Regions from separate parts of the Homo sapiens genome. Here regions 2, 3, 4, 5, 6 and 7 are each linked to region 1. Evidence: promoter capture Hi-C in 16 types of primary human blood cells and fetal thymus (Javierre and others, 2016). All regions are on one chromosome and are shown on one strand. The core of a region is centred on a gene start or on the middle of the fragment in contact, and the rest is flanking DNA. Distances in the headings are between cores, read along the strand shown.

What was found. The method cuts DNA at HindIII sites, captures the fragments that hold promoters and counts their contacts. A CHiCAGO score of 5 or more calls a contact.
Region 2: a contact is called between a fragment that was not itself captured here and the fragment with the promoter of WWOX in region 1, in 1 of 17 cell types (total CD8 T cells). The highest score is 5.0, in total CD8 T cells.
Region 3: a fragment that was not itself captured here is called in contact with the fragment with the promoter of WWOX in region 1 in 4 of 17 cell types (naive CD8 T cells, total CD8 T cells, activated CD4 T cells and 1 more); the score reaches 11.0 in naive CD8 T cells.
Region 4: a contact is called between a fragment that was not itself captured here and the fragment with the promoter of WWOX in region 1, in 5 of 17 cell types (activated CD4 T cells, non-activated CD4 T cells, total CD8 T cells and 2 more). The highest score is 8.4, in activated CD4 T cells.
Region 5: a contact is called between a fragment that was not itself captured here and the fragment with the promoter of WWOX in region 1, in 6 of 17 cell types (non-activated CD4 T cells, total CD4 T cells, activated CD4 T cells and 3 more). The highest score is 16.9, in non-activated CD4 T cells.
Region 6: a fragment that was not itself captured here is called in contact with the fragment with the promoter of WWOX in region 1 in 2 of 17 cell types (activated CD4 T cells and non-activated CD4 T cells); the score reaches 8.6 in activated CD4 T cells.
Region 7: a contact is called between a fragment that was not itself captured here and the fragment with the promoter of WWOX in region 1, in 3 of 17 cell types (activated CD4 T cells, naive CD4 T cells and naive CD8 T cells). The highest score is 10.1, in activated CD4 T cells.

What each region holds. Positions count from the first base shown.
Region 1 is chr16:78,098,404-78,101,474 of GRCh38, forward strand. It overlaps WWOX (WW domain containing oxidoreductase), which reads left to right and starts at 1,251. Exons shown (of 9, transcript NM_016373.4): 1 at 1,251-1,482. The coding sequence starts at 1,376. RefSeq lists an enhancer at 1,485-1,984. The HindIII fragment of the contact is 3,217 bases long and covers 1-2,520 here.
Region 2 is chr16:82,653,819-82,656,889 of GRCh38, forward strand. The region is part of intron 1 of CDH13 (cadherin 13); the gene reads left to right. Among named protein-coding and RNA genes, the nearest start is that of CDH13, 28 kb to the left of the region's middle. RefSeq lists enhancers at 1-861, 1-281, 103-312, 363-412, 653-702 and silencers at 1,606-1,900, 1,835-1,884. The HindIII fragment of the contact is 646 bases long and covers 1,211-1,856 here.
Region 3 is chr16:82,160,214-82,163,284 of GRCh38, forward strand. The region is part of intron 2 of MPHOSPH6 (M-phase phosphoprotein 6); the gene reads right to left. Among named protein-coding and RNA genes, the nearest start is that of MPHOSPH6, 8.5 kb to the right of the region's middle. RefSeq lists enhancers at 515-659, 2,918-3,062 and cis regulatory regions at 587, 2,990. The HindIII fragment of the contact is 3,410 bases long and covers 1-3,071 here.
Region 4 is chr16:74,293,356-74,296,426 of GRCh38, forward strand. No RefSeq gene overlaps it. Among named protein-coding and RNA genes, the nearest start is that of PSMD7, 1.9 kb to the right of the region's middle. RefSeq lists an enhancer at 2,692-3,071. The HindIII fragment of the contact is 939 bases long and covers 996-1,934 here.
Region 5 is chr16:81,749,126-81,752,196 of GRCh38, forward strand. The region is part of intron 2 of LOC105369213 (a long non-coding RNA gene); the gene reads left to right. It also overlaps a transcript of PLCG2 not described here. Among named protein-coding and RNA genes, the nearest start is that of PLCG2, 29 kb to the right of the region's middle. RefSeq lists an enhancer at 2,941-3,071. The HindIII fragment of the contact is 7,152 bases long and covers 1-3,071 here.
Region 6 is chr16:81,732,820-81,735,890 of GRCh38, forward strand. No RefSeq gene overlaps it. Among named protein-coding and RNA genes, the nearest start is that of PLCG2, 45 kb to the right of the region's middle. The HindIII fragment of the contact is 1,057 bases long and covers 975-2,031 here.
Region 7 is chr16:81,449,825-81,452,895 of GRCh38, forward strand. All of the region lies in intron 1 of CMIP (c-Maf inducing protein), which reads left to right. Among named protein-coding and RNA genes, the nearest start is that of CMIP, 6.6 kb to the left of the region's middle. RefSeq lists an enhancer at 1,911-2,250. The HindIII fragment of the contact is 1,123 bases long and covers 1,015-2,137 here.

The DNA.
Region 1 (3,071 bases), core at 1-2,500:
TTTTATTTTCCTTCCTTCCTTCCTTCCTTCCTTCCTTCCTTCCTTCCTTCCTTCCTTCCTTCCTTCCTCCCTCCCTCCCTCCCTCCCTCCCTTTCTTTCCAGATTCTGGACCTATTCCAGACTTACTAAAGGAAATTCTCTAAAGGTGAGGCAGTTTTTTAAAGACAGCAGCTCTCTCTGTCGTCCATGCTGGAGTGCAGTGGCCCGATCATAGCTCACTGCAGCCTCGACTTCTTGGGCTCAAGTGATCCTCCCCCTTCAGCCTCAATGAGTAGCTGGGACTACCGATGTGCACTACCACGCCCGGCAAACTAAAAAAATAATTATTTTTGGTAAAGACAGGGGTCTTGCGATGTTGCCCAGGCTGTTCTCAAACTCCTGGCCTCAAGTGATCCTCCTGCCTCAGCCTCCTAATGTGTTTGGATTACAGGCATGAGCCACTGAGCCCGGCCTAGCTACCCTGTCTGAGTTGTGCCCACTACACAAAGGTGTCAGCTACATGTGATGTCTGTGCATTTCTGGCCTGGACCGCACATTAAGTGCTCCGTAAACATCAGTCTCTATTATCAACAGTCTCTATTATCAATCAGTCTCTATTATCATCAGTCTCTATTATCATGAGTCTCTATTAAACAACAGTCTCTATTATCACAGTCTCTATTATGTGTTTTGGCTGAAAGAAAGTTCTCTAAAACCAGGAAATCAGGAATCAGCAGTTTTAAGTTCTCCAGGTTATATTTTAACATTGTGTTCATATGCAAAACAAAGGTTGTGAATCAGCACGAATGCTGGCAAGCCCTGGAAGGTTTGTGATCACGGACTTTCACGAGACCCCAAGGCAAGGAGAGACAGAAGCCCAGGACAACAGCATGGGCGCCGCTTTTTAGTCGGGCGCCGCTTTTTGGTCAGGCGCCACCTGGACTACATTTCCCATATCCAATTGCCGGGCTCCTGCAGGATTGGCCAGAACAACGCGGAAGTGATTACGGGTCGCCCAGCAACGGGCGGAGTCCTGGCCCGAAACTGGATGCGCACGCCCCTTCCCTGCGGCGGGGAGGCTGACAAGGCTCCGCTCTATCTCTAGCGCCTCGGAGCGCTCTCCGGCTTTGCTGTCTAGCCCGGCGGCAGCGCGATCTCTTAGGCACTTTCACCGCCTTCCTCTCCAGGCCCTGCCCCTTTGACGCCGGCCGTCGCGATATTGCGGAGACTGGATTTCAGCTTCGTGGTCGGCGGAGCGGCCCCTGGAGGGCGCAGTGCGCAGGCGTGAGCGGTCGGGCCCCGACGCGCGCGGGTCTCGTTTGGAGCGGGAGTGAGTTCCTGAGCGAGTGGACCCGGCAGCGGGCGATAGGGGGGCCAGGTGCCTCCACAGTCAGCCATGGCAGCGCTGCGCTACGCGGGGCTGGACGACACGGACAGTGAGGACGAGCTGCCTCCGGGCTGGGAGGAGAGAACCACCAAGGACGGCTGGGTTTACTACGCCAAGTAAGGGGGCCGCAGTGGGGCCGCGGACGCACCTGGGACCCTGCACAGCCCACGGACGCCACCTGCGCGGGGAGGACGCGCACTCCAGCGCAGCGCGTGCGGTGCAAAGTGAAAGTAACTGTTAAGGAGCTTCAGGGAAAAGGGTCCAGGGTTCCCAGTAGGGGCCGGCCCCCTTGGTGGGCCTCGGGTCCAGCGGGGGTCACCTGGTGGCTTCCCGGCGCGCCCTCTGCTGTTCAGGATGCAGCACTGCGCGGCGCGGCGAGGGCAAAGCGGCCTCATCCCCGCCAAAAAATAAAGATGTTTTAAAAAGCGCACATGCTCAGCTCCCTCCTGCAGGCTCTGGGTTGCAGGGATAGGAGTTTTGTTGTGTTTTGTTTTGTTTTGTCCAGACCGGTATTGCTCAGTCATCCAGGCTGGAGTGCAGGGGTGCCATCATAGCCCACTGTAGCCTCTACCTACTGGGTTCAGACAATCCTCTCATCTCAGCCTCTTGAGTGGCTGGGACTACAAGCGTGCACTACTATGCCCGACTAATTTTTTAAGTATTTGTAGAGACTAGGGTCGCACCATGTTGCCCAGGCTGGTCTCGAACTACTGGGCTCAAGCAGGCCACCTGCCTCAGCCTCCAGAATTGAGATTACAGGCGTGAGCCACTGCGCCTAGCCAGGAGTATTTTTTAGTAGCAGTCCTAGATAGCTTCACTATCATTTCCTGGGAAAGTTTTGGAAACCCCAGCAGAGCCTTCATCTTTAACTGTGTGACCTTGGGCCATTGAAATAACGTTTAATCTTGGTTTTTTCACCTGTAAAATGGGTTGATACGAGGGTCAGTTCAGGCACTGTGCGTAAAGCACATAGCACCGTGTCTAGTAGGTACTCTCTGTTCCTTAACTGTCGTTCCTTGATTGCTCTTAAGATACGACAGTGCCTCTTATATCGGCACCTTAGAATCACCTAGGAAATGTCCTAAATACACGTTTTGGGTCTCCATAGAGAACCTACTGTAGCCGACTCTCAACTTTGGGAGTCTCTTTTTTTAAGCTTTCCAGGTGAGGTGGAATATCACCTGGTTTTGAGAAACATGGATGTAAATCTGATTTTCAGCATCTGGGAAACTTTTTTTGTAAGAGCCTTTTTCTGGGCCCCACTTCCAGAGGGTTTTTCTTTTTTTTTTTTCTTTTGAGACGGAGTCTTGCTCTGTCGCCCAGGCTGGAGTGCAGCGGCGCGATCTCGGCTCACTGCAGCCTCCGCCTCCCGGGTTCACGCCATTCTCCTGCCTCAGCCTCCCGAGTAGCTGGGACTACAGGCGCCCGCCACCACGCCCGGCTAAGTTTTTGTGTTTTTAGTAGAGACGGGGTTTCACCGTGTTAGCCAGGATGGTCTCGATCTCCTGACCTCGTGATCCTCCCGCCTCGGCCTCTCAAAGTGCTGGGATTACAGGCGTGAGCTACCGCTCCCGGCCTTTTTTTTTTTTTTTTTAAAGACAGGGTCTCGCTCCGTCGCCCAAACTGGAGTGCCGTGGTGCGATCTCGGTTCACTGCAACCTCTGCATGCCGAGTTCAAGCGATTCTCGTGTCTCAGCCTCCCGAA
Region 2 (3,071 bases), core at 284-2,783, 4.6 Mb after region 1:
TGGGAGACAGATGCCTTTTGCAGTAGTTCCGGAGAAGAAGACTGAAGACCACATTCAAGGCCCTGAGAGAGAAGAGAAGGGGACAGATACCACAGAGATCATGAGATATAGCACAACAGATAAGACTTGCTAATTAACTGTACGGGGTTACAGGGAGGGACAGGGAGAAATCAGGTTTCTTCCAGCCCAGCTTCTGGTTGGAATCACTCAGGCAGAGACACATGGGCCTGAGAGAGGATTCCCCTTATGACATAAAGCCGCAAAAATTCTCATTAGTCATTGCAAAAACATCTATTTCCGGCCTACACTGCACCAGCCAGTGGGGGAGGTCCTGAGAGATAGAGAAAGGATGAATTCTTGCCCTTAGAGAGTCACCTAGAGATTCTGGGGAGACAGCAGGTCCGAGTCTCTCTGCCTGAAACCTCTGGACAGTGTCTTTGGCTGACACTTACATGGTGGTCTTGGTTTCTTATTCAAGGTCGGTTTCCCAACTCTCATAGCATCAGCTTTAGGGCATCCCCAAATCTCTTGCAGAAGAGATGGTTCTTTCCCCTTGAGTTGTTTTGAGCCAAGCATATAACATTGTGTGAATGTTTGAAAACTTCTCTTGGTTCTCAGAATGCAATTCTGACAGTGCTGAAGGCTGCCAATTAAATGAAGATTTAGATAAAGGCTGTGTGGGAGGTGGAATGCAATATTCTTAAACCTAATAATGGCTTCCTTCTGTCTTTTTGAAGCTCTCAAATAATCCTGATTGACTGACTCTCTGCTTTGGGCATTCCCATTTTCTGGACAATTTAATACCATTTAAAATGTTTGACAACTTTTATTTGGGGGCAGACATCCTTAGGGGATGGGGCCGTGGGCAAAGATACAAATGCTGTACCATCAAAGGAACCATGGATTTAAATAAGGATTTTTTTTTTTTTCATATTCAGAAGAGGTGGGTACAGAAAGGATGAGGGCAGCTTCTCAGGTTATAGTATTAACCACGTGAAGCAGCTAACAAAGGTATGTGCCTGGCCTTGTGCTAAAGGCTTTCCTCGTATCAGTTCTTTCATCCCTCCCAACACTACTGAGGTAGATGGAGTGACTAGATCCATTATACAGGCAAAGTAGCTGAGGCCCACAGCCATAGCAAATAAACTGTGGAGCTGGTGGTCCCAGATTTCATGCTTTTAGTCATTCTCTTGGCTCTGGGGTACAGGTAAGCTTCCAGAACTGGAGGATGGAGTCCAAAAGAAACTCAAGATAATTTCCCTGCCTTTCCCATTGTATCAGGGGATTCATCTGTTCATACATTCATTCATTTTCCCAACACATTTACTGAATGCCCGCAAGCACCAGGAAAATAGCAATGGGCACAACCAGGTTCCTATCTTCATGGAGCTATTGCTTTATTGGCAGAGGCAAACAGTAAAGAAAATTCATTAGTAATCAGTGTTGCAATCAATGAGCCGGTCAATCAAGCACCATAAAAGGGTAAAGTGTGACGAAGGTGCTCCTTGTGATAGGGGTTGGGGGTGAGGGGAGGTGTCCTGGAGAGGAGACATTTCAACTGAGATCTCTCTGAAGTAGATGAGATGGCCATGTGGATCTCAAAAGGAAAGTGTATGCCAGGAAGAGCAAAAAGCAAGTGCAAAGTCCTAAAGCAGGAAATAGTGAGGCTACCGCAGTGTCGGGTCCAAGAGTAGGAGATGAGATCAGGGAGGCAGATTAGGCTGCAGGGAGGGTGTGCGTGTGATGCTGAGAGTGATGGGAAACCACTGGTGGGGTTGGGGGAGGGCAAGGCAGTGACATCATTTGTTTTTATGTGCAGCAGAGGAAGCCAAAGCAATTCAGAAGAAGCCTACAGAAGCTTACCTCCTCCACAGGCTATTTTTTTCTTGTTTACATTTGTTAATTTTACATATATATTAACTCAGTCCTCACAACCACCAAATGAAATAGGCATTGCCCTTATTATCATTCTTTCCCATTTTAACAATGGGGAAACTGAAGCTTAGAGTAGGCAAGGTCGCCCAGATAGGAAGCAATGCCTTCGGGTCATGGCTCACTACTCAAGTGCCTGAAATTTCAGCTAGCCTTTAGTGGGCACCTGCTATGTGCCAGGATCTGTATGAGGTTTGGCACCACCTAGACAGCCCCTTGAACCAGTGGCATGTCTCAGGACAGTGTGAGAGACAGAAACTTCAGCTGAGAGTTACCGTGCAAGGCAGAAAATGCTGGTCTAGCAAAAGGAACTCTGATTTCGATTTGGAAGTACAGAGAAAGAGCATCTGCCTTGGACAGAGTTATCAGTGAAAAGATGACATATGAGCTGAGACTGAAAATCATGTTGAAGATAGTCAAACAAAAGCTGGCAGTGTGGGAGTGGGGGCTTCAAGCAGAGAATCAGTGGTTCAAAGGCACAGGGTAGAAGGAGAATGGCAGCTGGCTCAGTGTGGCTGGAGAAAGAGGCTGGAGTGCACCTGGTTGCATTTGAATGGTGTGCGTGTGTGTGTGTGTGTGTGTGTGTTAATGATGGTGATGAGATGAGGGGCTAGAGAGGAAGACAGGTTGGCACCTGGTAGCATTTTTTAAAAAGCAAGTAAACCTTATTTTTTAGAGCAGGTTTAAGTTCACAGCAAAATTTGGTGGAAGGTACAGAAGTTTCCCAAGTACCTCCTATCCCCACAAATGCACAGCCTTGTCCCACTATCAACATCCCACATCAGAATGGTACATTTGTTACAGTCAATGACTCTACATTGACACATCATTATCACTCAAAGTTCACAGTTTACATGAGGGTTCACTCTTGGTGCTGTACGGTGTATGGTGGATACATGACAAATGTGTAAATTCATGTATCCACCATTATGATATCACACAGAATAGTTGTACAGCCCTAAAATACTTGCTCTGCCTATTTGCCTACCCACTCCCTTCTCCCTAACCCCTGGCAATCCACCGATCTTTCTTCTATTTCCATAGCTTTGCCTTTCCCAGAATGTCATATGGTTGGAATAATATAGTATGTAGCCTTTTCAAATTAGCTTCCTTCACTTGGTAACATGCATTGAAGTTTC
Region 3 (3,071 bases), core at 248-2,747, 4.1 Mb after region 1:
AAGTGAAATATTTCAAAACTTACCTCTTTTTGTATTTTAATTATCCAATTTTCATTAATGAGGATAATTTTCAGGCTAAAACACACCCACAAAATTATTTCATAAATTTCGCAGATGAGAAACTACTGCTCAGAAAAAGCTGGACTTGCCTAAAGCCACAAATACCATGGCAAAACTCCAGTTAGAAAACCCTTCTCAGTGGGTCTCACATTCCTGCACATTTTTTGAGTGAGGCACTAACTGCCCGGTTGCTCTGGACTATCTTTGCAAGGATATCTGCATAGCGAGCAGCCTTGAAAAACAGTCTTCCTCTAAAGCGAAGGGCAGATTTGCTTACTGTCCAGCATAATACAGATGCCTCTCTTGGGGCCGAAGGCAAGTCTGCTTGTGGTCCGTTATCCAAGGTTCCAGTTTTCTAAGCTCAGGAGATCTCAGCTATGATGCAAATCCACTGGGTGCACAGCATCCACCTGGGCCACTTCACGCCATCCCTCATAGGAGTTGGGGACAAAAGAGAAATGACGCAAACTTGATGCTTGTGCTGCTTGCTGTACAGTAAGTCCTTTGTTTCTGATGGTGTTCAGGAGACACTACTCCCAAAATATGGCATCTTGGCATACTGAAAATTTTACACTGGAGGAATCTGAAAAATGACGTGCAGGTAGGATTTTCTGACTGTCCCCTGAAGCAGGTCATAAAAGCATCTCACATAAGAGGTGCCCTCCCTACACTCAGAGGAAAGCAACATCCTTATCTCAGAAGAAGGGACAGAGAGAGGAATCTGAACAAAAGACTTGCTAAGTTTCTCCTGGCTTATTACTCTTCGTTCATACCCCTTGCTCCCATCATATTTCTTCACAACTTTCCACTCTTCATCAAAGCTAACATAAAAACACTCAGGTTCAACCAGTTCTTCGGTATTCATTTTCTTATGAAGGCTCCTGTGTCACCTAAAACTTTTGTGAAATAAAAGTGTATACCTTTCTCTTTGTTAATCTGTCTTTTGTTACAGGGACCCCAACTAATGAACTTCAAATGGGTGGAAGGAAAGGCTATTGTCCCTCCCCTACATCTCAGACCCAGAAGGTTCCTATCTTCCACCAGCATCAGTGAAAGTGTGGCAGGCTAACTTGTTAGTTTCAGGTCCCTATAGCTTCTGACTCCAAACAGACCACAAAACACAAGTATAAGATGTACAATAGCCAAAAATACTTCTTAAACAACTTGCTACGGCAAAGGAGGAATTAAACTGCCTATACTTGCACACTCTTTCTGGACCATATCCTTGGGGAAAAAAACAATAAGGCAATAGATAGCAAAATCTTTCATCTGGTAAATTTCACTCCTAGGAATTCACACTATATCGGGTTCCCTGGAAACAGACTCTGAGACAGACATATATGCAGAAAACTTAGCAGGCAGTGTTGTTCAGCAGATGCCCTTCTAGGAAAACAGAGAAAGAAGGATTGGGCAGAGGGAGAAGATAATGGGCAATGTGGCTACACTAAGGCCTCAGCCACATATGAGAGCTCTGGAGTCAGGAATGCCCTTCAGTTGTTCCAAGTTGAGGCACAGCAGCTAGATCATCATTCCCCTACATGGTCTAGCCACTGGCTAAAAGTGTCCCCTGTGAGGCAGTGTTAACACTGAATAGCCCTAATTATCTTCACTGAATTACAGACTGATACGGCTGACATTAAAAATGGGAAAGTCGAGACTTTCAGAGCACAGACACATGCAATCTCCAAATTCACAGAATAGTTAAGACAACACTAGCAAAAAAGGATACACAAACATAAGTGAGTAGAAAGGAATGGGTGTACTTCATATATTCAGATATAAGGAAATACACACAATGGTGACAATCACTGTGCTTTATGCCTGGTGTTATGGTGACTGTTTTACATATATTACCTCATCTACTTCTCGGAATGTACTGGACAGGTACTATCATCATACCCAATACACAAATGACACAAAACAGGTTAAGTAACTCACCCAAGGTGACAAGTAAACAACTGGCGGAGCTGGGCATCAAACCCAGGTCTGCCTGACTTCAGAGCCCATGTGCTTAATCAACCAATCCATTCCATGATCTCCCTATTTAGAGTGTTAAAAACAACAACTCAATACAACACGTATACCAAGGACATGTCATCCATTCACCCCTCCAGACCTACTTCCCGTCTTCACCTGTTTCTCTGGCCTGGGAGGCTGACTTGAACGTAATGCACGGAAGGGCTCCTTTGCTGCCAGGTACCTGGCTCCCTTGCTAGGATGACCTTGGGCTGGCCGTACCCGTGAATGGAGGTAGCAGCTCCTGTAAGGTGCTCTCTCTACACAACTTATCTGCAGATTCGGTAGCAGCTATTCCCCACCCACCCGTTGACTCTGCAAGCTCAGGTGGTAATCACTCCCACTACACATGCTAGGAGGTGCTGCACTGCCCCGAGGGGCCCCCCTATGCCCCACCCACACCTTGATAGTCTCTCCTCAGTCTGAGAGTGTCATCTTCTCCTGCCAACATCCTGAGCTGATATACACACCTATACATAAACAGGATGCTGAGTAATGGCAAAAAGGCATTATTTACCTTCCCAGAAAGAAATGTAAAGGTCATTTTCTGGGAATAATATGCTGTATTAGGGGAAAAATACTGGAAACAAGATAGAAACAGTCCTGCTCTTTAATAAACAACTGGAAGGAACACTTTGGCAAGTTTACTTAAGGCATAAAAGTAAATTATAGCTCCAGCAGCAAAGGTCCCTTCCTCCCTGTGACCCTGCCCCTGGCACTATCTTCTCCCTCCTCACCAACATCTTGCTTCCTCTGAGAAGCAGAGAAAAAAAGTACCTTCTCCCGATCCCTCCTGGTGGGACATACTTTCTATCTTTAGAGAAGGGTATCTAACCTTCAAACAATGTCCAGAGGTCAGCCAAATGAACAGGGGAATATAACATTCCAAATCAAAGCCCAAACATCAGGTACAGAATGGAAACACATAAATGTGCCTCAAGACAGTAAGCAGCATCTTCAGTCATTTGACCAAAGTTTAAGTAAAACTACCATAC
Region 4 (3,071 bases), core at 215-2,714, 3.8 Mb before region 1:
TTTTAAAAAAATAACAAATTAAAAATGTTAAAATAAGGCTGGGCACAGTGGCTCATGCCTGTAATCCCAGCACCAGCCTGGCCAACAGGATGAAACCCCGTCTCTACTAAAAATACAAAAATTAGCCAGGCGTGGTGGCGGGCACCTCTAATCCCAGCTACTAGGGAGGCTGAGGTGGGAGAATCGCTTGAACCCAGGAGGTGTTGGTTGCAGCAAGCTGAGATCTGGGCAACAAGAGTGAAACTCAGTCTCAATCAATCAATCAATCAATAAAATAAGTCTGGCTGCAGAGTGGAGGATGGAGATGGGAGAAGGTCAAAACTGGAAGGCAAAAAGAGAAATTAGGAAGCTAATGCTGAAATCCCTTAAGAAATACAGCACTTTAGGCCAGGCGCGGTGGTTCACGCCTATAATCCTAGCACTTTGGGAGGCTGAGGCAGGCAGATCACAAAATCGAGACCATCCTTCCTGGCCAACATGGTGAAACCCTGTCTCTACTAAAAATACAAACAAATTAGCTGGGCATGGTGGCATGCGCCTATAGTCCCAGCTGCTTGGGAGGCTGAGGCAGGAGAATCACTTGAACCTGGGAGACGGAGGTTACAGGGAGCCGAGATTGTGCCACTGCACTCCAGCCCGGTGACAGAGTAGGACTCCGTCTCAAAAAAAAAGCACTTTGGGCCAGGGTTAATCTTAGTTTTCTGTATGTGGTACGATTTCAGGTGATTTTAATTTATTTCAATTAATTAATTATTTGTGACAAGGTCCTACTGTTCGGAAGGGTCATGAACTCCTGGGCTCAAGTGATCCTCCAACCTCAGCCTTCCAAGTATCTGGGATTACAGGCACAGGCCACCATGCCCAGCTCTATATTCATTTTTATTTATCTGAATAGTGTCATTTTTCCACAATGATCATGTGTAACTAGAATAATTTTTTAAGCTCATAGTCAGTTTCACACTGCTTCAGTGAGTCAGGATTGGAGACACCCAATAAGCTTCGAAACAGCTTGCTTAGGCTTAGTACAACTGCAAAGTGAACTCAGTGTGAAATAAAATATATCACTTTCTAAAGTTTGAAATTTAGTATCTTAATAAAATTAATGCAATTCTTTTGCCTAAGACTGCTGCAAGCAGGCACACCAACCAATTAGGAACTGGGGTCACAGAAACCTGGCTTGATCCTGACCAGCAATGTGATCTTGGAAAGATCCTTCCCAATGTCTGAGCCTTATTGTCATCTTCCATTTCACTATCATAACTAATTATTCATTTATATAGTAATTACTGAATGTCTCCTATGTGCCAGGCACTTTTCAAGACAATGATAATATAAAAGTAAACTAGGGGCCAGGTGCAGTGGCTCACACCTATAATCCCAGCACTTTGGGAAGCCAAGGCAGGCAGATCACTTGAGTTCAGGAGTTCCAGATAAGCCTGGCCAACACAGTGAAACTCCATCTCTACTAAAAATAGAAAAATTAGTGGGGCATGGTGGCGCTCACCTGTAGTCCCAGCTACTTGGGAGGCTGAGGTATGAGAATCGCTTGAACCTGGGAGGTGAAGGTTGCAGTGAGCCAAGATTGTGCCACTGCATTCCGGACTGGGTGACAGAGCGAGACTGTCTCTCATTTATTTAAAAAAAAAAAAAAAAGTAAACAGGAGTTTACAAACTAAACAAGAGCTTACATTCTAATGAGAGACAAAGAATGAACAGAATAAGTAAATTCTACAAACTATTCACAAGTGGTAAAAACTATGGAGAAAACTAAAGCAGAAACACATTAGGGGGAGAAAGACAAAATTTTTTCAAAGCGTGAGAAAAAGCCCACCTCGAGAGCAACATTTGAGCAACAATTTTCATTTGTAATGAGAAAATACCGACTTCGTAAGGTTGTTACAAGCCTTGTTAACACAGCATGGGCCTCACCTGAAAGCTTGTTAGAAGCTCAGAATTTCAGGTCCCATCTCAGACCTACAGAATCAGAATCTGAATTTTAACAAGGTCCCCTGGTGATTTGTAAGCATATCAAAGTTTGAGAAGCATTAATTAAAAGGATTAAATATTTGCGTCTGAACCAGGGCTGGCATATTATAGGCACTCAATAGATTCAATAATTCTTAGTTTTCTTTCCCCATTAACATAACCCTTATATCTTTCTAGTTATAATTAAGAATGAATGGCCAGGCACAGTAGCTCACACCTGTAATCCCAGCAGTTTGGGAGGCTGAGGTGGGAGGATTGCTTGAGGCTGGGGGTTTAAGACCAGCTTGGACAACATAGTGAGACACCAACTGTACCAAAAAAAAAAATGAAAAAATAAAGATAGCATTGAGTCTCTTCAATTAATTATGAATATTAAGCATATCCTGCCATTTACTTCCTTGCAGATCTAGCAGAAAATCTGAAAATAAAGCCAAGTTGCAGACAGAAGACAAAGATAAATTCACATGCAGACAAATTCAAACTCCTGACTACATTAATGTCTCTCATTGGTGGCCAAATTTCAGTCTAATCTTTGCTAATGTTTTTCACCACCCACAAATAAGAGAGACTGAGTGTGTCCCTTGACATTTGGAGATCAGGAAGTCCACCTTAAAAAGACAAGAGGCCAAAATGTTGGGAAAATCCTCTGGTGATAAAGGGAAAGCAAAAATTGTTTAAAAACAGAACAAAATATAAGTAAATAATTCAGGTTGCTTAAGTACTGTTTTCGTTTACAGAAACAGCAACTTCAAATGAGACGATATAAACCTGTATGATTTTTCTTATAATTTGCCTCCTGCAAATAAGCTTAAGTCTTTGTCTACCTTAGTCTTCTCTTTCCTAGCTACATATCACAACATACTTCCTTACTGCCTTCCTTCCGTCTTTTCTTCAACGCTTCTGTAAATTTTGATTTCAAAAGCAACGGCACAATTGCGTTCTTCTAGCCCTAGTTACGCAGTAATATAACGACAGGTGGAAACCTGCAGGTTGCCACGTTCATTGCAAAGTGTCCACAGTAAAGATAAAGGAGAAATTCCCCCGGCAATGAAAACGAGAATGAGATAAATTACCAAATTACATTA
Region 5 (3,071 bases), core at 257-2,756, 3.7 Mb after region 1:
CAAACCAGGGTTTGATTTACATGTTCTCACACTACTGGTTGGGTGGTTTATTTGGGAAGGTAGGAGCTAACTCAGCCAAAGATCCTGTTCTCTGAACCCATCTGGGTTGCTTTTTAACATCTCTATAATCCCTGAAGATGTAGATTTTAAAAAATCACTTGATTGATTTTTGTCAAATTATATGCCTTAAACAAACTAAACTTTTTCATTAAATAAATTATATTTTATTTTTTATTTTTTTGCGATGGAGTCTCATTCACTCTGTCATCCAGGCCGGAGTGCAGTGGTGTGATCTTGGCTCCTGGCAACCTCTGCCTCCTGGGTTCAAGCAATTCTCCTGCCTCAGCCTCCTGAGTAGCTGGGATTACAGGCGCCTGCCACCAAGCCCAGCTAATTATGTGTATTTTTAGTAGAGACGAGGTTTTACCATGTTGGCCAGGCTTGTCTCAAACTCCTGACCTCAAGTGATCCATCCGCCTTGGCCTCCCAAACTGCTGGAATGACAGGCGTGAGCCACTGTGCCTGGCCTTCATTAAATAAATTTAAAGAAATAGATGAGTGTTACCAATTCAAGCAATGAAGTATTTGGAGGGCAATTTGGTGTTTCTGTCAAAATTGTTTTGGTATGTGTCCAGCATTTACACAGCAAATGATTTATCTTTCCCTGTGGATATACTCACCCCACTGTTCAAGGATACATGTCCAAAGATGCATTGCTTATGAAGCAAAGACACAAACCTAGAAAGAGCTGAGATGTCCCTCAATGGACAGCTGCTTCACTTAAGTGTAATCCATCTACGCGGCGGAATGCAAGGTACCATGGTTGAGAAAAAGAAAGCTGGCTGGATTTGCTGACCTAGAAAGAGATCTGCAATATACCGTTAAGTAAAAACAACAGTAGAATAATATGATCCCATTGTGAAAAAAAAAAAGTTAAAAACACATAGAGGTATCTATGTTTTAGCAAACATAGAAAACAATGTATAAGATCCAGCAATTTGGCTGGGTGTGGTGGCTCATGCCTGTAATCCCAGCACTTTGGGAGAACAAGGCGGACAGATCACCTCAGGCCAGGAGTTCAAGACCAGCTTGGCCAACATGGTGAAATTCCATCTCTGCTAAAAATACAACAACAACAACAAAAATTAGCTGGACATGGTGGCGGGCATCCGTAATCCTAGCTACTCAGGAGGTTGAGACAGAAGAATCCCTTGAACCTGGGAGGGGAAGATTGCAGTGAGCTGAGATCTCACCACTGCACTCCAGCCTGGGTGGTGATAGAGTGAGACTCTGTCTCAAAAAAAAAAAAAAAAAAAATCCAGCACAGCAATCCCACTTCTGGATATTTACCCAAAAGATTTGAAATCAGTTTGTTGAAAGATGTCTGCACTGTCAGGTTCATTGCAGCATCATTCATAATAGCTGAGTTATGGAATCAACCTAAATGTCCATCAACAGATTAATGCATAAAGAAAACGTGCCACATATTTACAATGGACTACTATTCAGCATTTAAAAAGCAGAATGGGGACTGGAGATTTTTTTTTTTTTTTTTTTTTTGAGATAGAGTCTCCCTCTTTTGCCCAGGCTGGAGTGCAGTGGCGCGATCTCGGCTCACTGCAAGCTCCGCCTCCCGGGTTCATGCCATTCTCCTGCCTCAGCCTCCCGAGTACTTGGGACTACAGGCGCCTGCCACCACACCTGCACCTGGCTAATTTTTTGTATTTTTAGTAGAGATGGGGTTTCAACATGTTAGCCAGGTTGGTCTCGATCTCCTGACCTCAAGATCCACCCACCTCAGCCTCCCAAAGTGCTGGGATTACAGGCGTGAGCCACCGCACCCAGCTTTTTTTTTTTTTTTTTTTTTTTTTTCAAACAGAGTTTCACTCTTGTTGTCCAGACTGGAGTACGGTAGTGCAATCTTGGCTCACTACAACCTCCACCTCCAGGGTTTAAGTGATTCTCCTGCCTCAGCCTCCTCAGTAGCTGGTATTACAGGTGCATTCCACCATGCCCAGCTAATTTTAGTATGTTTAGTAGAGATGGGGTTTCACTATGTTGGCCAGGCTGGTCTCAAACTCCTGACCTCAGGTGATCCACCTGCCTCAGCCTCCCATAGTGCTGGGATTACAGGCATGAGCCACTGCCTCCAGCCTGGAACTAGAGATTGATGGCCAGGGAAATTCTGTCATTTGCGACAACATGGATAAAGATGGAGAACATTATGCTAAGTGAAATAAGCCAGGCCCAGAAAGACAAGTGTCACATGTTCTCACTTATATGTGGAATCTAAAACAGTCAAACTCATAGAAGCAGAGAGTAGAATGGTGGTTACAGAGGCTCGAGGACGGGAAATGGGGAGATGGTGGTCAAAGCATACAAAATCTCAGATAGGAGGAATATGGGTTTTTTTTGAGACCTATTGTATGGCGTGGTAAATGTCATTAATAATAGAGTATGGTACATTTCAAAATTGCTAAGAGAGTAAATTCAAACAGTCTCATCACAAAAAAGTTAAGTGTTTGAGGTGATGGATATGTTAACTAGCTTTAATTATTCCACGTTGTATTCATAGATCATAATGTCACTTTTTACCCTATAAATATGTAAAAGAGTCCGGGTGCAGTGGCTCACAGCTGTAATCCTAGCCCTTTGGGAAGTCACGGTGGGTGGATCACCTGAGGTCAGGAGTTCAAGAGCAGCCTGGCCACCATGGTGAAATCTTGTCTCTACTAAAAATATAAACATTAGGTGGATATGGTGGCAGGCGTCTGTAATCTTAGCTACTCGGGAGGCTGAGGTGGGAGATTTGCTTGAGCCTGGGAGGCGGAGGTTGCAGTGAGCCGAGATTGTGCCACTGCACTCCAGCCTGGCCAACAAAGCAAGAGTCTATCTCAAAAAATAAATATAAAAAAAATATAATATATGTATATAATATATATAAAAGAGCTAGGATTTGAACCTGCAACTCTTCACTGTGATGTAGGCCCCGTCTATCACGTATGAACTATGAGCCTGCTGAGTGCTGGGTGCTGAGCTGGGAGCTCCCACTGTTCCCCAACACTGCGTCT
Region 6 (3,071 bases), core at 253-2,752, 3.6 Mb after region 1:
CTTCCCCCTGTGGGCCACCTCCCGCTGCCCCCTGCTGGGTCTCTTCTTCCTTTCTGGGTGGCATAACAGGAAGCTATCTCAGGCTTACTGCCTCCTGGTGTCCACTTGACTCCCAGAAAGTCACACTGCCCTGACCTGTAGACTGGAGGACATTGCTGTGGTCACCTCTCCCCACCCAGGCACCTCTTGCTAGCTGCCTTTCTCTAGTCCAGGCAGGCAGCATGAAGATCAAGCATCACCTGCCTTGGGCTGGGGGTGGCTGGAGGACAGGAGTGAACCCGGAACCTGGGAAGGAGATTTCCCTCTTTTTCTCTCCCTGCTCATGGACCTCAAGTCTTCTGTTGGAGGTGGGATGACATATGGAGAGAGTGGAACATTTTGCACCACTTTTTAATAAGCCCTGAAGTCGTCTTTTAGTTTTCTACCTTTAGAACATGGGGAACTCATGCCTAGATGGTGATTTCTAGACTGCTAGAGAAGGCTCACTCAGTCTCCTCTTATTTTGACCATCCATCTACCCAATGATCCATCCACCCACCCTCTATCCATCTATTCTCCATCCATCCAGCCATCTACTTATTCATCCATCTGTCCATCCTCTCTCCATCCACCCTTCCACCTACCCATCCACCCACTCACCCATCCATCCATCCATCCATCCATCCATCCGTCCATCCACCCACCCATTCATTTATCTATCTACCCATCCATCTATCCATCCATTCACCATCATCCACCCACCCATCCATCTATCCATCCACCCACCTATCCATCTATTCATCTATCCAGCCACCCATCCATCTATCCATTCACTCATTCATTCATCTATCCATACATACATTCACCATCCATCCATTCATCCATTCACCCTCCATTCATCGACGTTGACTGTACACCTACTATGTGCCAGTCACTCTGGTAGATGCTGAGGATCTAGCAATGAACAAGCAAGACCAAAATTCCCATGCTTATAAAGCTTATGTTCTGGGAGGAGTCAGGCAATAACAAAATCAACAATGAAAAGATATAGTGGGCCAGGCGTGGTGGCTGGTGCCTGTAATCCCAGCACTTTGGGAGGCTGAGGCGGTAGATCACTTGAGGTCAGGAGTTGGAGACCTACCTGGCCAACATGGTGAAACCCCATCTCTACTAAAAATACAAAAATTAGCCAGGTTTGGTGGGACCTAGCTACTCGGGAGGCTGAGGCACAAGAATCGCTTGAACCCGGGAGGCAGAGTTTGCAGGGAGCTGAGATGGTGCCATTGCACTCCAGTCTGGGTGACAGAGCGAGACTCCATCTCAAAAAAAAAAAAAAAGAGAGAGATGGAAAAGATGTAGTACCTTAAAAGGATAAATACGGTAGAGAAAAATTAATCCAAACAGGGGACTGGTGAGAGTTGAGGAGGGGTATCCAGGTGGGGCTCACTGAGAAGGTGACATTTGAGCAAAAACCTGAGGGAAGGGAGAAGGGAGCTGAGTGGGTATTTGGGGAAAGAGTATTCTAGGCAGAGGGAACAGCCAGTGCAGAAGCCCAGAGGTGGGAGTGGGCACAGAGTGTGAGGAGCAGGAGGAGGGGATGCAGCCAGGGCAGAGTGGGCACAGGGGAGGAGAGGGGAGGGCCGGGTCAGCGGCTGCTTGCGGGCCTCTGGGTGTCATTGGTTTCACTGTCCATCCGCTCGGTCCACAGTAGCTCCACATGCACTGCAGCACTTGCTGCTCACCGGGCCCCTTGCTGAGGGTTCCCCTGTGCACGTGTCATCTCATCTCCAAAATAGTCTCATCATTCTCATTTTATAGATGAGAAAACTGAGGCCTGAGCCTGTAAGGTGAACCATGAGGGATGAGAAGGGAATAGGCTGGAAGTGGGTATTTGGGGTGGGTCGGGCAGAGCCCAGGCCTACATGACATTCTCTGGGAAGAGGCAGCCAGGCCTTTGCCAAAAACCTCCCTATGGCTGCCCCAGTTGGCCCAGGTTCTTGAACCTAGAAGAACCCAAATCTTCTTGTCACAAACTCTCTTGGGGAGGCAAGAAGCTTCTCTGTTCCCAGCCTTCCAGGATGACCAGCCCCAGCGGGCGTGTGTGTGGTGGGGTGGGGGAGAGGGAGGGACAGAGCCAGGTTTTTCCTACCAGGCAGGCCCATGCAGCTTGCGCGTGGGTGGGTGAGAGAAGGGTGGGTGGTTCTTAGCAGAAGGAGATGATGCCAAATGGGCCCAGGAGGTGGCCAATAGCATCCAGAGGCCAGAGCTGCTCTGGCAGAACCAGGCACTGGCTCCATCTCACAGTGGTCCAGGGGCCACATTTGAGCCTCCCTTGGCCTGTCTTGGCAAGAAATAGAGAGCAGACATTTACAAAATGTTTGGTTATTCATTTGACAAATATTTACATGCGTCTACTGTGTGCTAGGCCCTGGGTTCTGTACTGAGTAGATGATGAGTGAGTGGGTGGATGGGTGGGTAAATGAATGAGTGGATGACTGGGTGGATGGGTAGCTGGATCAATGGATAGATAGATGGATGATGGATGAATAGATTGGTGGGTGAGTGGATGGGTGAATAAATGGGTGGGTGTATAGATGGATGTGTGGATTGTTGAGTGACTCATGGATGGATATATATTAGTTGTTTATTGCTATTTAACAAATCATTTTAAAATTTGTGGCTTAAAGCAGAAAATATTTATTATCTCACTATGTCTCTGGCTCAGGAATTTGGGATTGCCTAGCTGGGTTGTTCTGGCTCAGGGCCTCTCACACGGCTGCTGCAGGATGGTGGCTTGGTCTGCAGTTTCATATGACAGCTCGCCTGGGGCTGGAGGATCCACTTAATGATGGATCCCTTGCACAGCTATTAACAGGAGGCCTTGGTTTCTCATTACACTGGCCTCTCTGTAGGCTATGTGAGTGCCCTCATGATGGCAGCTGGCTGTATTCAAGGTCAGTGATTCTAGAGAGAAAGAGAAAGACCAAGATGGAAGCCAAAGTGCCTCTGATGACCTTGTCTCCGGGTCTTACACCATTACTTCTGGTTTTTCCTTTTTTTTTTTTTTACCTGTTAGAAGCAAGTCACAAAGT
Region 7 (3,071 bases), core at 326-2,825, 3.4 Mb after region 1:
TGCCTTTCCCAGGCTGTAATAAGTAAGTGCATTTTAAGGAAGGAGTAAGTTTTGATGCTCGCATTTGCCTGGTGCAATCTGAGATGCCTGTTCCGGCCACGGCAACATCATGCCAGTCCAGGTGGAAGGAATTTCACTGCATGTGGCTGAGCTTTCCTGCAAGTGGGTGACAGAGGTGGCAGTTGCTGCTGGCTTGGGCTGCTTGGCCCACAGATTGACTGATGTGGCGGCCCTGCCTGCTCCTTAGTGTCTCATCGGGCAGTGAGAGGGCATTTCTGGGGCACTGTCCTGGGCAGGGCTCAGGGGGACCTGGTAGAAGGCAAAGCTGTCCCAGGGTACCTCAACTGCTGCCAGCCAGGACTGACTCGTCTTGAAGGTACCCAATTGGTGTTTTGTTGGCATGGACATTGCAGGGGGTCAGCTTACACCTTTGATTAAAGGAATACATGAGATTAGGTGAGGCAGCCTGATATGGGGCATCTCCTCTGTGGGGGAGAACAGATTTGGGTTTTGCGTTCTCATGGCGCTGGATCTGGATTTGAAGGGTGCAGTTTCCTGGCTGTGTGACTTTTGGTGCTTTGCTTTCCCTTGCTGGGCCTTGTTTTTCCTCCATCCTTAGGGAGAGCACCTCATGTCTAGGGTTGCTGTAAGGATTGGAGAGGATAGATAAGCACCTACTAGTATAGTCAGCATACAGTGACCAGGATTCCAATTCCTGTTTTGCTAATTGCCCTGAAAGAGCTTCATGACTTTCTGCACAAATGGAAGGGATTATTGTTACCTAAAAATGGGTGGCCTCCAGAGAGTTCCCTGAGATGAATAGTGCATTGGGGAAAGCTAGGGGTGTTTAGCAGGTCTCATAGGTAGGAAGGCAATGAAATTCTTGCCAGCAGTTTAAGAAAAATTCCTTGCGGGGCGTAGTCTAGTTTCTTAAAATAAATTACAAAAATTGAAATACTCATGTATGCATCAGGTAGATTTGATTAGTATAACAAGGTGTTTAATGAAAAATGAAGCTTCCCTTACTCGACGTCCACACAGCCCCTAGTGGCCCTCCTTGGAGGCAAGCACTGCTGCTCATTTCTTGTGTATCTGGACATGCATGCACACAGCTGTCTACCGTGGTTCTTCACTGGACAGTATATTTTGGAGACCCTCCATGCGTGTGCAGCTGCCTTGTTCTTTTTCATTGCTGCATAGTGTTCTGTTGTAGAAGTGTATCACAGTAATGTAGGTAGACCCTCCCCTGTTGATGGGCATTGAGGTTAGTCCCAGCCTCTTTGATATGGTTTGGATGTGTTCCCACTTAAATCTCATCTTGAGTTGTAGCTCCCATAATTCCCTTGTGTTGTGGGAGGGACCCAGTGGGAGATAATTGACTCATGGGGCGCTTTCCCCCATACTGTTCTCTTGGTAGTGAATAAGTCTCACGAGATCTGATGGTTTTATAAGGGGAAACCCGTTTCGCCTAGCTCTTTCATTCTCCTCTTGTCTGCCACCATGTAAGACGTGCCTTTCACCTTCCACCATGGTTGTAAGTTCCCCCCAGCCACGTGGAACTGTGAGTCCATTAAACCTCTGTCTTTTGTAAATTGCCCAGTCTCAGGTATGTCTTTATCAGCAGCGTGGGAACGGACTAATACACTCTTGTTCCTTGAAAGAAAACATTTTCTATTTTTACTGAATGGAGTTGTCTCTATTTTGATGTTCTTTTGCTTAATTCTTTGGGATGGGGGAGCTGAGCCTCCTTTTGAAGAGGGAAGGGCAGTGTTTCCTGGGGTTATTGCTACCTGGAGTCATGCTTTGTTCTGGCTGAAAGGTCACCAACCAGGGATCCCCCTCAGAGGGTCTGGCCACTTGGTCTTCCCTGCAGCTGAAGGAACATAGGTGACCAGGGGGCTCTGACAAGGATGCGCTGACTTCCACCCACAGAACAAGGGTCTGTGCAGCTCCACCTGAGGGCATTGCTTTTTGTTCCCTGACTTCCTGCTTTCCCCAGGATGGAAGCCAGGCCACCCAGCCCCATGGTGGAGGAAGAGAGGAAGTGAGAGTTTCTCTTCCTTGCTCCTGGCTCTGGTGATGAACCACCCAGTGTATTCAACAGGCACCGAGGGAGACTGTGCGCATTTTGAAAGGAAGCTTCGCTTACATCAGCAGAGCCCTAACCGAAGGGTGATGAGACGTGCGTGTGGGGGAGGTGTTTGCTGTGTGTATTGAGGCAAAGGAGATGGCAGAGAAAATATTTCTGGTGCTGAAATTGGTTCCTGACTTCAGTAGCCATTTCGTTACCCCTCCCATGTGCACAGCGCTCGTCCTGGCATTTGGGGTGTGCAGTGAGGCCACAGGAAGAGAACACGGCAGACCCAGTGGAGTAGGGGAGTGAGGACCTGGACTTTGAAATCAGACAGGGGAGCTTGAATCCTGCCTCTGCAGTGTCCCAGGTGGTGACCTTGGGCAGGTCCCCTAGCCTGTGTCCTTATCTGTAAAGCGAGGATCAGAGAAACTTCCTCTTAGCATTGATGTCAGGGTAAATGAGGTGAGGCCTGGCGGTGCTTTCATGCCTCCATTCAGCAGTTAAGTGTCACCGTTCTAGGCACTCGGAAGAAAACAGGAGCCTGCCCTCGTGGAGCCTGTGTTGGTGGGAGTGGACAAACAACTAAGTTAAGAGCAAGTAATTATAAAATCCGATGACAGGGATCGTGGAGAAAAGCAAGCAGGGTGGGGCGAGTGGTGGGCTGCTTTGTACATAGTGGTCAGGGAAGCGGGTGATAGGACTTCCAGGGGGAAGAGCGTTCCAGGTAGAGGGAACAGCAATTGCAAAGGCCCTGAGGGAGGAGATCATCTGTGGAAATCACCCAGTAAAGTGGCTTGCACCTGGTACATGTTCTATGATTGTCAGTTTCCTTCCTCCTGCTCTGTGGAGCTGTTATTATCTGTTTAAAAAATTAATGAGTATGTAGAATGTGCGAGGTGATGGACACACAGGCAGCTCCTTGCCCCGTAAAGCTTCCATTCTTTTGCTTCTGTTGTGTGTTTTTTCTTTTGTTTTTTTTTTGTTTTGTTTTTTTTTT